Linked DNA regions of Homo sapiens: region 2 is linked to region 1. Evidence: promoter capture Hi-C in human tissues and cell types (Jung and others, 2019). All regions are on one chromosome and are shown on one strand. Each heading gives the region's core, a stretch centred on a gene start or on the middle of the fragment in contact. The rest is flanking DNA. Distances are from core to core; before and after follow the strand shown. Region 1 holds the start of SLC6A1 (solute carrier family 6 member 1). Region 2 overlaps ATG7 (autophagy related 7).

Evidence for each region. Contacts are between HindIII fragments. The study calls those that stand out against the background at their distance.
Region 2: a fragment that was not itself captured here is called in contact with the fragment with the promoter of SLC6A1 in region 1 in 1 of the 25 tissues and cell types used here (small bowel).

Annotation. Positions count from the first base shown.
Region 1 is chr3:10,988,644-10,995,631 of GRCh38, forward strand. SLC6A1 (solute carrier family 6 member 1) reads left to right here and starts at 4,105. Exons shown (of 16, transcript NM_003042.4): 1 at 4,105-4,286. RefSeq lists an enhancer at 4,425-4,949. The HindIII fragment of the contact is 17,540 bases long and covers 1-6,988 here.
Region 2 is chr3:11,342,022-11,349,009 of GRCh38, forward strand. ATG7 (autophagy related 7) reads left to right here. Exons shown (of 21, transcript NM_001349232.2): 13 at 114-258; 14 at 5,856-6,014. Among named protein-coding and RNA genes, the nearest start is that of ATG7, 73 kb to the left of the region's middle. The HindIII fragment of the contact is 4,142 bases long and covers 2,059-6,200 here.

The DNA of each region.
Region 1 (6,988 bases), core at 2,855-5,354:
GTTTCTTCCCAGATCGTCACCTATAGCCTAATGAGAGGCTCTCTGGGGCGGCAGAAAAACTCCCTGGCAGGATTCATGAGCTTACAGGCCCAGAGCCCTGGCTTTGGAGGAGCCCAGGCCTAAGCTGAGATCCAGTCTCTGCTCCTCTCCTACTGTGTGTCTCTGGGCCAGTGGTTCGTCCTCTCTACACCTCTGTTTCCCCATGTGTCAATCATTACCATGCAGCAAGTGCTCAAAAATGTAGCTAGTAGGCATGGTTTTCGTGGCTTTGCCAGCAGATAGCCAAGTACCCTCAGGCAAGTCAGTGCCTCTCTCTGGGCCTCAGTTTACCTGCAAAAGCATTCAACTAGCTAATATCTAAGGACCATTTCTAGCCTAATGGCCTGTGAGTCTATGACTCAATGAACTCTCCCAACTCGAGAAAGAGAGAGGACTATGATAATGACATTCACAATCGACATTTCCACCATCTATTGGGTGCCTACTATGCGCTGGGAACCCTGCTGGGCACCAGGTCCTCCTCGTCTCACACCTACAGTGCAGCCTCCTGACAATCTTCTCACTTCTGATCTTCTCCCTTTTAATCCATCCTGCATACCTGGCCAGTTTCAGCTTTCTTAAACCCTGCCTGCTCCTTTGCTCCAGAACACTCAGTGGCTCCCCAGTGCCCCTCAAGGTCAAGACCCAACTCCTTAATGTGGCAAGCGAACCTTCCATGCTCAAGCCCTTCCCTTTGTCATGGACTCTCTGACAGACTGTGTTGTCTCTTTGTCTAGTCCTCCCCATTCCTCGTACTCAGTAGGTGCTCAATAAATATTTGTCGAGTGAATGAACACATGGATAAAATGTTTCTCTAAATTAGGCTACTCAAACTTTAGTCCTTTGCAAAGCAGCCACAAGAGTTTTGCAAAAATCTGCACACCATGTCTATTTTTATTTACTTAAATATTTTCCTTTTTTAGATTAAATAAATGTATCTCAAAAGGAAACTTTACATCATGCTATAACTAGAAGGCCAATATTACTTGCCAGAAATAGGTCTCCATTAAAATAAATACAAGGACAAATGAGCAAAGCATTCAATTCTAACTAGATACTGTTGTCTACCAAAGCTGGCAGCCTCTCAGTTAAAATGGGATTAGTCAGTGCTTTGGAGAGGTGTTAAAGACTAAACCAGCACCAACCTGAGACTTGCCCATTGACAGAAATCACAAGGATGTAACAAAGGGATGAATAGGGGAGAACTGTTTCACTCCAAGTTATTTCACTCCACTGAAAATTATCCTACCTACCATCAGAGGTTGGCAGCCTACATTTTGGAAACCTTGTTCTACAGAGCCCACAGCTCCAGCTCAGGAGGTATGCATATGAGTTCTCTGAAAGACTTCAACTCAGGCTTTTTGAAAGAGTATTGGAAGCCCTGCATGCAACTACCTCGCCTTCACAATATAGTGTCCCTATCTGAAGTCTCACTGCACCAGAGACAGCTCTCAGAGCTCGACTGTGATAAGAGTTTGTTGGAAACCATCTTCCTGGTGGAATAATGAGCTCTCCCCATCCTTGCAGAGATGCAGACATACGCTGGACAGTCATGGGTGTAGGGCAGGGGCAGAGAATGCCAGCGGGGGCAGGGAATGTCATGGAGATAATTCAAGCATCAGATGGTCAGCCTATGAAATTGACCTGATAGCTAGAGTTTGCTTTCATATGTAAGCAAAACAAATCCAGAGGGATGAAAAGAGAGAGGAATTCATTTCTGGTCAGCAACGTAGAAAAAACAGAGAGACAATTGTGAATGAGGTTACCCAGAAAACACGAAGGACAAAAGGGGGATGGGAATGGCTATTATTATTCCTTTTTATAATGCTTCATAATTCTCAATCCAACACTGGATTCATGAAGACTATTTTGGTTTTAAGCAACATAAACTGAATTCAAACTTGTGTAGCATAGGAAAAACAATTTAATGATATAAATAGCTGACACTGCCTTCAGGTATGGCTGGATCCAGGGACCTGATATACATCAAGACTCACTCCACTCTCTGTCTCTCAGTTCTGCTCTCCTCTATGTTGGCTTCATTTTAGGTCGGGTCTGCTCAAGTTCTGCAAAGATGGCTGCCAACACCTCTATGCTTAGGAGCTTTGGTGGAGATTGAGTTTCTGTTTGACAATAGTTTTAGCAAAAGTCCCAGACAGAGTTCTCATTGGCCCAGCATATGTCACACGTCCCCTCATTGAGGTCAGAGTGATGTGCTCTGATTATCTGTGCCCTGGGTCACATGTCTGTCTCCAGGAGGAGGGAGCCCCACCCAACCATATTGAATATGAGTGAAGGAGGGGAAGTTTCCCAAATGAAAATTGAGGTTCTGTCACCCAAAGAAGTTGAAATGAATGTCAGGCAAGCAAAAGTAGCCTTCATTTTTGCTACCCTTGTATCTCCACTCAAAGCTATGCCCCACATCTCCATCCAGACAGCTCCTACTCATCCTTCAGACCTCAGTTCAAATGGCGCTTCCTTGAGGAAACCTTCCCAAACCATCCCACACTAGACTGGAATCCCCTGCTGGACTAGAATCCCCTGCATGTGTGCTCCTGGCAGAGCTTGTCATTCTGGGTTTGTGCGGTTATTTGATGAAAGCCTGTCTCCCATACTGGACTGGCATCACCTTGAAAGCTGTGGCCTGTCTTGTCCATCGCTCTGTCCCTGGAGCCTAGGACAGTGCCTGGCACACAGGTGGAACTCGGGAAATATTTATTTGAAATACCAACGGAAGTCCACAGCACATATGACCTGGTGATCAGTGGTGGGAGGTGAATGGGTCAAGAAAGACACCAAGATTCCCTGCTCATGAGTGAGAGTGTGGGGAAACAGAAGAAGTCAGGGTGACCTTGGTGAGCACTGCCCTGGGGGACTCGAGGATGGATGAAAGCAGGGAGGAGGCCAGATTAGGTGGGGTAGAGGACCTGAGGTCCATCAGCAAAGGCCATCCCTGGGGACAAAGAGAGGAGGGGAAGAGTAGGTCTGGGCTGGAGAGAAGGAATCTTTTCTCTGAGTTCCTGGGGACCCCAGAGGGAAGGGCAGATGTGGCCCCATTCCCAGAAGCCTTTATAAAAGAGGGTGGGGAGGTCAGGCCTTGGCAAGGACAAGGGAAGGAGTCCCTACGTGCTGGATTGGGATTGGCTGGAAAGGGGACTTCTCTGGGAGAATCCCTCAAACCTCAAGAACTGAGAGAAGGGTGTCTGGGGCTCCTGCCACCATCCCTGTTTCCCTTTTAAGTAATCTGTTTCCCCATCTGTCCATCCATACACACAGCCACTTGTGTCTCCATGACCAACCGCTGGCAGTGGAAGGGTGTCCTTCCCACCCCCACTCTTACACACACTCCCAGCTGGTACCCAGAGCCTGGTCACCCCAGGCCAGGCCTGTGTTTCCAGGTGTAACGGGCAGCAGACGCTGCCCTAGGACTAGAGCAGGGAGGGGGCACGGGCCCACCCCAACCCACAGCGACCCACAGAGGGCGAAAAGAGGACGACCGCAGAGAGAAACGGAAAGGACAGGCCAACGGAAGCAGTACTGCAAGGCTGGAAGGAGAAAAGCCAGGAGGGGAGTGCTTGCTGTGAAAGACAGGGAGACAGAGACCAAGACGGACAGGCAGACAGGCTGGTGACCCAGGATGAGGCCGGAAAGAGCCATCAAAGGAAGGAGAAGGAAGGAGAGAGATTGGAGCGGGACGGCGGGGCAGGCGAGGGAAGGAGGGGGTGGGGAGAGGGAGGGAGGAAGAGAGGGGAGAAAGAGGGAGGAAGAGAGGGGAGAAGGAGGGAGAAGAGAGCGGGAGAATGCGAGAGGAAAGAAGGGAGAGGGGAGGCGTAGAAGGGGAGAGGAGGTGAAGGGAAAAGGAGAGAGCCTGCTGGCGGCGAAGCTGCAAGAGGCAGCTGCGGAGGGAGCGCGCGGCGGGCCTGGGGGAGCGCTGGGCGGGGGCGGGCGGTGCGGGCAGGGCTATACCCGAGCTGGGCGGGCTCCGGGCGCCGCGGGCCCTGCCCTCCCCCTCCATCCCTCCGGACTCGCTCCCCCCTCCTCTCCCTTCCCCGCGACCCTCCGCCCGCCCTCGGAAGACCGAGACAGCGGAGAGGTTGCGGGTGAGCTGCGCTGAGCCCAGGAGCCGAGGAGTCGGGAGCGCAGTAGCGCTGAGCCCGAGCCCGAGCGGCCCCGCGTCCCGAGCGCATCGGAGCGGCCGAGCCGCCCGGATGCAGCGCCTGTCCCGGGCAGCGCAGCCCCGGCCGCAGGTAGGAAAGGGCGGCCGGCGTCGGGGCGCGGGGCGCAGAGCCTGGGATAACGGCGCAGGAACGGCCAGAGCCCCGAGCCGCTGCCGCGAGCCGGGCCGGGTGGGGGGCGGACACCTCGAGATTCAAGCCCCCGCGCCGCACCTTCCCTGAGCCACATGAAGGAGCAGAGGCGCCGCTCGGACCCCGACGTGCGCCCAGGCCATCCGTCCCCTGGGACACTCGGGAGGCAGGAGGGCTGGAACAGAGGCGAGAGTTGCATGCCCCTTCCCTCCCGCGGTGCCCCACTGGCCCCGCAAGTTGGCACTGGATTCTGCTGGAGCCGTCGAAGCTCCCTATTCATTCCCCAGGGCATGGAGGGGACGCGGAGTGAATGACACGAGCAGCGTTGGGGGGCCGTGCGCCACTTTCCCAATCCTGGGGTCAGCTGAGCCGAGTTAGAGCTATGCCCCTCATTTGTTCTCTGCGGGCTACGGCGGGGTCGGGTGCGACTTGAGGATGGGACGTCTCTGGGACAGCCCGAGCTCTCAGAAACGTTGGCTTAAAAGCACACCGGGGCTTGGGCTGAGTGCACCGGAGCTAAGCCTAGTGCACCAGAGCTCGCGCCGCGCTCTCCCAGCCCCGACTTTCTCCAAGAGATGTGGGGTGCGGGCGGTCCCTTAGAGGGCTGGAGGACGGTGCCTCCTTGCTGCTTCGGGAACTGCGCTCCCCTTCTTGCTTTTGGTCTCTGCGTGTACTCCCCGGCGCGACACCGCTCACCACGGTAGCCTCGGGCAGTGCCCATTGGGTTCTGAGCACACGTCCCCACGGGTGGCACCCACAGATGTCCTGTTCTAGGCTTGGCTCGGTCTTCAGACAAGAAACTCAGACCGGGCAGTCCCCTATTGAGGCTCTGAGCTAATATCCTCCCAAAATAGACATGAACCACAAGGAGAATTTTTTAAAAGCCAAATGATAACACCACGTTCTTTCCGGATGTGGGGCTGGAGCGCTCATTCCCTTTCCCAGGAAGCTCAGCCTTATCCCCATGAAGAGCTGGGGGGGCGGGGAGGGCGGGAATAAAATGGCTCCTGAGATTTGTGACACCCCAAAAATCAGAGACGGTATCAGACTGAGTGGCATTGGGGGTCTACCTTTGTTTTTCTATGACACACAAGGTGGGTGTTTGGCAAGAGAGTAGGGATGTTGGGTGCTGGATAGTGCCTAGATTCTGTGTCTTTGGGAACTTTGGGGGAAGTGTCCTCCTAAGGGAGCCAAAAAGGCTGCTACCCCAGTCCCCCAAATTCCAAAACAAAAGAGGTCAGTGAAAGCTACTCGCATTTTGCATGTTATCTCTTTATCTTTGGAGCACATTGGGAAGGACTGACCCAGCTCCAGATCAGGGTCTGATTGGGGCAGGACAGACCCTCTCCAAGGCAGAGAAGGGGAAAAAGAACTTGCCCTTAGAAGTGGGAGTCCCTGGGGGAGTGGGACAGACCTTTTCCCAGAGCAGCCCTGGCAAAATGGCTGAGCCTCCCTTGAGCCTCAGAAATAAATCGTCAGGCAGGCAGCAAACAAAGAAAGAGCTCTGTCTCCAGCCAAGCACTGGCTCAGTGGCCAGTCCTTGGAGGACAAACAGTGAGTCCCAAGCAGAGAGACGCAGCCCGGCCTGTCTGGCAGAGCATCTGGAAAGTGGGGTTCCCCTAGGAACACACAGGAGAGAGGCAGCCACTCTGGAGGTAAAATCAGGGACCCTCTGTCCTGATGTGGGACACTTTATTTCAGGTCTGGAGGCTTGATGAGAAGTGGGTCTCCAGGAACTTAGATGGGGCTGGGAAGGATGTCTGGAGACCAAGGAGTAGGTAGCTTAGAGGGTAAAGATGAGGCAAAATCAAGTCCATCGAAGCCAAAAGATGCACAGTGGCCACGTCTCTCCTGCCTGCCACGGATTTTACATGCCTGGTGACCCCGGAGCAGCAGAGGCTATAAATTTTTTTACACGTGGCCCAGCACACAGCAGGACCTCAATAAACCTCTTAGAATAAAGCCTGCATGGATGGAAGGTGATGCTATCACTGGCATGGACCTACCTGCAATCTGTACCTGTCTCACTGAGCCAGGAAGGCTATAAAATGTGGCCCCTTAGTCCATAGCCGGGAATGAACGAGCCCCAGATGAGGGTTTGCTTTGAGCTGGGGCATTGCCATTTCTGGCCAGGTGACCTTGGGTACGTTCTTGTTCCTGTTGGAAGGAAGGAATGGAGTACCCAAAGCTTCCAATGTGCCAGGGATTATTCCTACAAGAACCGTGTGGAGCAGGCACTATTCTAATCCCCACTTCAGAGGCGATGAAACTGGATGCAGAGAGGGGAAGTGACTTGTCAAAGGTCACATAGCCAGGAGGAGGAAGGGCAGGGATCTTAACCCTACTGTTCTAATTTCCAGGCCAACTCTGTCCTATTGTGGGTCTCTGGGCCTCGGTTTTTCCATCTGTAAAGTGAAGTGATGGGGTGGTAGTTCCCGTGGGCCTGCCATGGGAGCAGTGGCTGGTCCTCTACCTTGGTGGCATATGACATGTGGAGAGCACCATGAAATAAATAAAGCACCAATATCAGGCCACTTCTTGCCATCACACAAAGACTCCATTCCTTGGCTTGGCTGTGAGCTCAGCAGCTGAGATAGAGTTCCATGCTACTTGGAATTTGGAGATGTCTTTTCCACCCTCTT
Region 2 (6,988 bases), core at 2,880-5,379, 350 kb after region 1:
TTGATCCCAATTTCCTTATTATTTCTTATTTTCTTGCATAGCCACTTGAAATCTTTCAGAACAAGATTATTGCATAAAGGAGTGACTGAATAAGTAAATCTCTCCTTTTCTAGGTTAGCTGAGTCATCAGTGGATCTAAATCTCAAACTGATGTGTTGGAGATTGGTTCCTACTTTAGACTTGGACAAGGTTGTGTCTGTCAAATGTCTGCTGCTTGGAGCCGGCACCTTGGGTTGCAATGTAGCTAGGACGTTGATGGTAAGTCGGAGGTGGGGGGTGCAAATGGCACCTTTGAAGTTGTAGCTTCTCTTCTTGTTTTACTCTCATGATTGCCTTCCATCTCCCAGCTCCCCATCCCCTCCATCTCTCCCTCCCTTCCTTTTTCCTTTTCTTATCTTTTTAAGTGTAAAAGAAATACAACCTTTTATCATCAGATAGAAACAGAAAGTCCTCCACACCCATCGCAAGTCCCATTTCCTATTAAGCAGACTTTGTAGATTAGTATGCAGCCTTTTTCCCAGATGTTATTGTAGACATATCTAAATATAGAGAAATCAGTATCTTTGCTGATATTTATTTGTATTTATAAAGATTAGATCATAGCATACTATCTATAACAGGTTTTTATTTTTAACTAGATAGAAAAATGACTGTAGCTACCTTTCTGTGTTTCCATAGTATGTATGTGTAGTATTTTGTTGTATGACTATGTTCTTTATTTAATCAATTTCAGATTACTTTCTATTTTTTTCTATTAGATACTGTTCTCTATTAGAGAACATTCTTATACTTGTATGTTTATATATCCATAGGATTTTTTTTTTTAGGAAAAAAACCCTGGACATAGAATTACTGTGTTAGAGAGAGTATAGAATTTGAATGTCAATATTTTATATATTTGTTTGTCATTAATTTTTTTTTTTTTTGAGACAAAGTCTCACTCTGTCACCCAGGCTGGAGTGCAGTGGCATGATCTCAGCTCACTGCAACCTCCACCTCCTGAGTTCAGCGATTCTCCTGCCTCAACTTCCCGAGTAGCTGGGACTACAGGTGTGCACCATTACACTTGGCTAATTTTTGTATTTTTAGTAGAGACGGGGTTTCATCATGTTGTCCAGGCTGGTCTTGAACTCTTGCCCTCAAGTGATCCGCCTGCCTTGGCCTCCCAAAGTGCTGGGTTTACAGGTGTGAGCCACCACGCCTGGCCAAACATGTTTTTCAAACGAAATTGCCTTCCAAAAATGTTACACATATGAGACACAGAACTTTTTTCCACGCTCTTGCCAAAACTGGATATATCAACTTTTGAAATCTCAGTCAGTTAAGTAACATTTATTGTTTGAATTTGTGTTTCTTTAATTAGCAAGGGTGAGTTTAATTTTATTTCTTTTGTGAGTTTTATTTCTTTTATTCATGTTCTTTGGGTTGTGTCTTTTATTGATTTAGAGTTCTTTTTATTGGGGCAATTAACCTTTTTTCTGTAATATGATGCAAATATTTTTCTCAGTTTATCTAAGGTGTCTTTAGCCATATAAAAGTTTTTTTCAGCTTTATGTTATTATATGTGTCAGTCTTTTCCTTTGTGGGTTATGGAACTCTTGTTTTTATGTTAGAGCTTTATGAATGTGGAAATTTTTTGGTTACATGATAAGGGGTAAAGATCTAGCTACTTTTGCACAAAATGGATTGTTAGTTGTTTTAATGGCATTTATTCAGTAATCTAAATCATCATTTTTCTGTCTTTATCAAATGCTAAACCCCCTTATATACCTGAGTCTCTTTATGGATTCTCTATTTTGACTCATTGATCTATTTTTTTATTCCTATATTCATGCTCACTGTTTTAGTTGAAATTACAATGAATTTATAGATAAATTAGAAGGGATTGATGTATTTTTATGACATTAATCCTTAGTTCTGGGAGCATGGTGTATCTCTTAATTAGATCATCTTTGTTTTTCAGTAGCATTTTCTTTATATAGGCCTTCCATGTATCTAATTGGGTTTAAATATGGTATTTCTGCATATTTAATGATGTTTTTTCCTTTAGAGATATTTTCTCCCGTTAAACTTTCCAGTTGACTATTACTGGGATGTAGGAAAAATAGTGAATTTTGCATATTTGTCTTTGGCCATCTTTCTAAACTCTCTTAGTTCTAAGAGTTTTTTGATTCTTTTGTAGCTTAATAGTATTCCTCACCAACACTTATATCTTCCTTTTCCTTGTCTTATAAGATTGGCTAGAACTCCACAGTAATGTAGAAGAATGGCAGTGAGAGTTGATATCTTTGTTTTATTGCTGACTTTAATGAGAGTGCCTCTTGTTTTTATCTTTAATTTTGATGTTGGTTTCTGGTAAGTGTTCTTTATAATTTAAAGAAGCTGATTTCTGTTTCTGCACGTTTATATCAGAAATGTCGAGCTTTATCAACTACGTTTATCAAGACAAAGTATTCTAATGTTGAGCATTCCTAGAATAAACCCTATTTGTACGTGGTATCTTATTCTTCTCATATACTCTTGAATTCAATTAGTAATGTTTTGTTTTTAAATGTTACATTTTGGCCGGGCACGGTGGCTCACACCTGCAATCCCAGCAGTTTGGGAGGCCAAGGTGGGCGGATCGTTTGAGCTCAGGAGTTCGAGACCAGCCTGCACAACGTGGCGAAACTCCATCTCTACAAAAAAAATATAAAAATTAGCCAGGCTGTAGTGGCGCGTGCCTGTAGTTGCAGCTGCTCGGGAGCTGAGGTGGAAGGATTGCCTCAGACCAGGAGGTTGAGGCTGTAGTGAGCCAAGATCGTGCCACTGCTCTCCAGCCTGCGTGATAAAGCAAGACACTGTCTCAATCAACCGATCAATTAACCAATAAATTTTACATCTCACTTCATAAGTCAAATTGGTTTATAGTCATGTTATTCCTTGTTCTATCTTTGTATATTTTATAGCTACATTATGCTAGCTTTATAAAATAAACTTAAAACGTTCTGCCTTTTTCTAAGTTCCAGAACAATTTAAATAAATGAATTATCTGTTCTTTGATGGTTAGGTAAAATTCAGTTATAAATCCGTCTGGGCCTGATGCATTTAAGAATTTTGTTGGGCCGGGCACGGTGGCTCACGCCTGTAATCCCAGCACTTTGGGAGGCCGAGGCGGGCGGATCATGAGGTCAGGAGATCGAGACCATCCTGGAGAACACGGTTGAAACCCCGTCTCTACTAAAAATACAAAAAAAAATTAGCCGGGCATGGTGGCAGGCGCCTGTGGTCCCAGCTACTCGGGAGGCTGAGGCAGGAGAATGGCGTGAACCCAGGAGGTGGAGCTTGCAGTGAGCGGAGATAGCGCCACTGCACTCCAGCCTGGGTGACAGAGCAGGACTCTGTCTCAAAAATAAAATAAAAGAATTTTGTTGGTTGGGGTAGTAAGGGTGGTGGGAATCTTTGTAAACTTTTACAGATGTTTCTGTGTTGACTCACCTTTTTAGATTTTGTACTGCTTTTCTAGCTTTAAAAATTAATTGACATAAAATACATATGGTATTCTCTTTTAAATCTTCCTTTTATCTTTTAAAAAATCTTTTCATATTCCTAATGTTGTATATTTGTGTTTTCTCTTTTTTCCTCATATTAAGCCTTGCTAGAGAGGCTTGTCTATCAGTTTTTTTGGAGCATTACTTTATTTATTCTATAATTTTTGTTTCTGTCTCATTTTGCTTTCAGATTCGTAAATATCTACTTTTATCTTTATTAATTTTTTCCTCCTTCTGTGGAATTTATTTTACTGTCTTTTTCTAGGTTCTAGAATTTTTAGATGCTTAGATTTTCCTAACATTTTTCAAAATTTCAAAGTCAACATAAAGCCATTATAGAAAATATAAAAGTCATAAAGCAGGAAAGAAGACACTCATTTTCCTACCGCTTTTTCACTTGTCACATTTCAGTGTTTAATGTGTATTTTAACATTTTATTAGATATATAATAATGTCCTTTGCTCTTACCAATTAACATGTCATTAAAAATGATGCCTGTCTATGAGGCCTTTTTATTTTTTGGGACAGGTTCTGGCTTTGTTGCCCAGGCTGGACTGGACCTTGTGATGTTCCCACCTTGGCCTCCCGAGTAGTCAGGACTGCATGAGTTCACTGCAATGTCTGCTAAAGCTTTATGACTGTAGAATATGCCTTCTGATAGGATGAAACATAACTTACTGAACCCTTCTCCTAATGTTCAGCATTAACATTGTTTCCAGTTTTTTACAATTGTAAATTGTGCTGCAAAGAACATCTTTGTGACTGCATCTTGGTCAGTATGTCAGATTATTTCTTAGGATAAATTGCTGGAAATAGGTCATAGGATATGGGTATTCTTAAGATTCTAGAAACATACTGCCAAATTGCTTTCCAGGAAGATTAGACCACTTTAACATTCTCAATCAGTAGGATGATTTTCTCCCTACCACATCCTCACCAGCATTGAGTATTGTGATTTTCTTTAATCTTTGCAGATTAGCCATTTAAACTGTGTAGCATTCCAGGAAACCAAAAGTTAAGTGTGTGCAAATACACCTGCATGTGACTAACCTATGGCATGTTTGTAATGTATCTGGCTTTCTTCCCACTACCCAGCACGTTCCCAGAGTGCCTTCCTTGCTATCCACTCATCAGTTGCTTTAAGGAATGCAAAAATACTTCAGAAATAAACATTCCCAAAGCAAGCACAAGTGACTTTATTCTGCCTCCATGGTAGGTTGCTTAGATGATGAAAATAATTTACAAAACTGGGTGGGTAGACCAAAAGGTTACCAGTGGGCTTCAAAACAGTCAGTCTAACCTATGCTTATGAAAGGCAGATTCTGGCCTGTCGTTCTCGACACAGAAAACAAATCTTGGGTCCTTGTTGGCTGGATCTCTGAAACCTTCAATCTAATTGAGTCTCTCAGTTTCTAATGGAAAGATATTGAAATAAGAGAGAGCAGAATCTTAGCCTTGTAGCCAGTCATGGCAGGACATCTCTTAGGTCAGTATGCTTACTTATGATCTACTAAAATATACCCACTGTACCCTACCCCAAGAAGTAGGCAACTTCATTTGGTTGCACCTCTGGAGAGCTCATTCATTCCCACCATTAACCAGATGTATCTCTTAGGCAAATCACTTATCTTTCCTGGGCATCAGTTTCCATATCTGTAAAACAAAGTAATTGGACCAAGGATTTTAGAGATCCCATCTACCTTTAAAATCGTATGGTTTTATAAAACTGTTATAGGAGACATAATTGAAGTCTATAAAACCGTGAAAACTATTTCTAAGAATATAGACTTGTTCCCTAAATTCCAGATTATTAATAAGGCTTTGCCTCTTGAAGAAATGGTACAAAATGTTCTAAAATATCATACAGTGGGAAATAATTTGTGAGTCATTTTTTGGAGGAGTTCATTCAGGCTTTAAATGAGCTTCAAGAGTAGTTGTTATTTATACTTAATTATTCGTTAAGGGAAATCAAGGACATTTAGGGGCTATTGCTAATCTTTTTAAAACAACAACATAGACAATTCTTATGGGATTCACCTCCAAATCTTTGGTGACACTGTCAAAAATAATTATTAGTCTGTTCCACTTGACATTTTTTAGTCTTATTACAGGAAACCAGGCACTGAGTATATAATTATGTTGTTTTCTAAGGAAAGTCAACATTCTGTTTATCGTAACCTGAATTTGCACAATTCAGTTTCTGAAGTTTCTTGTGTTTTGAGGTTCCCAAGCTTCTCCAAACCAATATTCTTTTTGAGATTTCAAGAGACAGCACCCTGTGAAATGTTCATCAGAAACACACCATGATCTCCTGTTTCCACACAGGGTTGGGGCGTGAGACACATCACATTTGTGGACAATGCCAAGATCTCCTACTCCAATCCTGTGAGGCAGCCTCTCTATGAGTTTGAAGATTGCCTAGGGGGTGGTAAGCCCAAGGCTCTGGCAGCAGCGGACCGGCTCCAGAAAATATTCCCCGGTGTGGTATGTTGTTGCTTTTGCAGAGGTTTTCTGTTATATGTATAAATGTTTAAGTCTTGGGAAATGAGGCCTGTGGCATTGAAGAAAGAGAGTCAGATATCTGTCACTTTCTACCAGCCACTCGCTATGTGGCTGAACCTCTGTTTCCTCATCTCAGAGAGGGATAAAAAAACACAACCAGGTCAGGCATGGTGGCTCATACCTGCAATCCCAGTGTGTCTGGAGTTGGTTCCTTCAGTGCGTTCTTGGTCTTGCTGACTTCAAGAATGAAGCCGCGGACCTTCGCAGTGAGTGTTACAGCTCTTAAAGATGATGTGTCCAGAGTTTGTTCCTTCAGATGTGTCTGGAGTTTCTTCCTTCCAGTGGGTTCGTGGGGTTCCTTCCGGTGGGTTCTTGGTCTTGCTGACTTCAAGAATGAAGCTGCAGACCTTCGCAGTGAGTGTTACAGCTCTTAAAGATGATGTGTCTGGAGTTTGTTCCTTCAGATGTGTCTGGAGTTTGGTGGGTTCATAGTCTCGCTGACTTTAAGAATGAAGCCACGGACGTTCGCATGTTACAGCTCTTAAAGGTGGTGTGGACCCAAAGAGTGAGCAGCAGCAAGATTTATTGTGAAGAACAAAAGAACAAAGCTTCCACAGCGTGGAAGGGGACCCAAGTGGGTTGCTGCTGCTGGCTGGGGTGGCCAGTTTTTATTCCCTGATTTGTCCCCACCCACGTCCTACTGATTGGTCCATCTTACAGGGTGCTGATTGGTCAGTTTTACAGAGTGTTGATTGGTGCGTTTACAAACCTTTAGCTAGACACAGAGCGCTGACTGATGCCTTTTTACAGAGTTCTGACTGGTGCATTTACAATCCTTTAGCTAGACATAGAGCGCTGATTGGTATGTTTTTACAGAGTGCTGATTGGTGCGTTTACAATCCTCCAGCTAGACACAGTGCTGACTGGTGAGTTTTTACAGAGTGCTGATTGGTGTG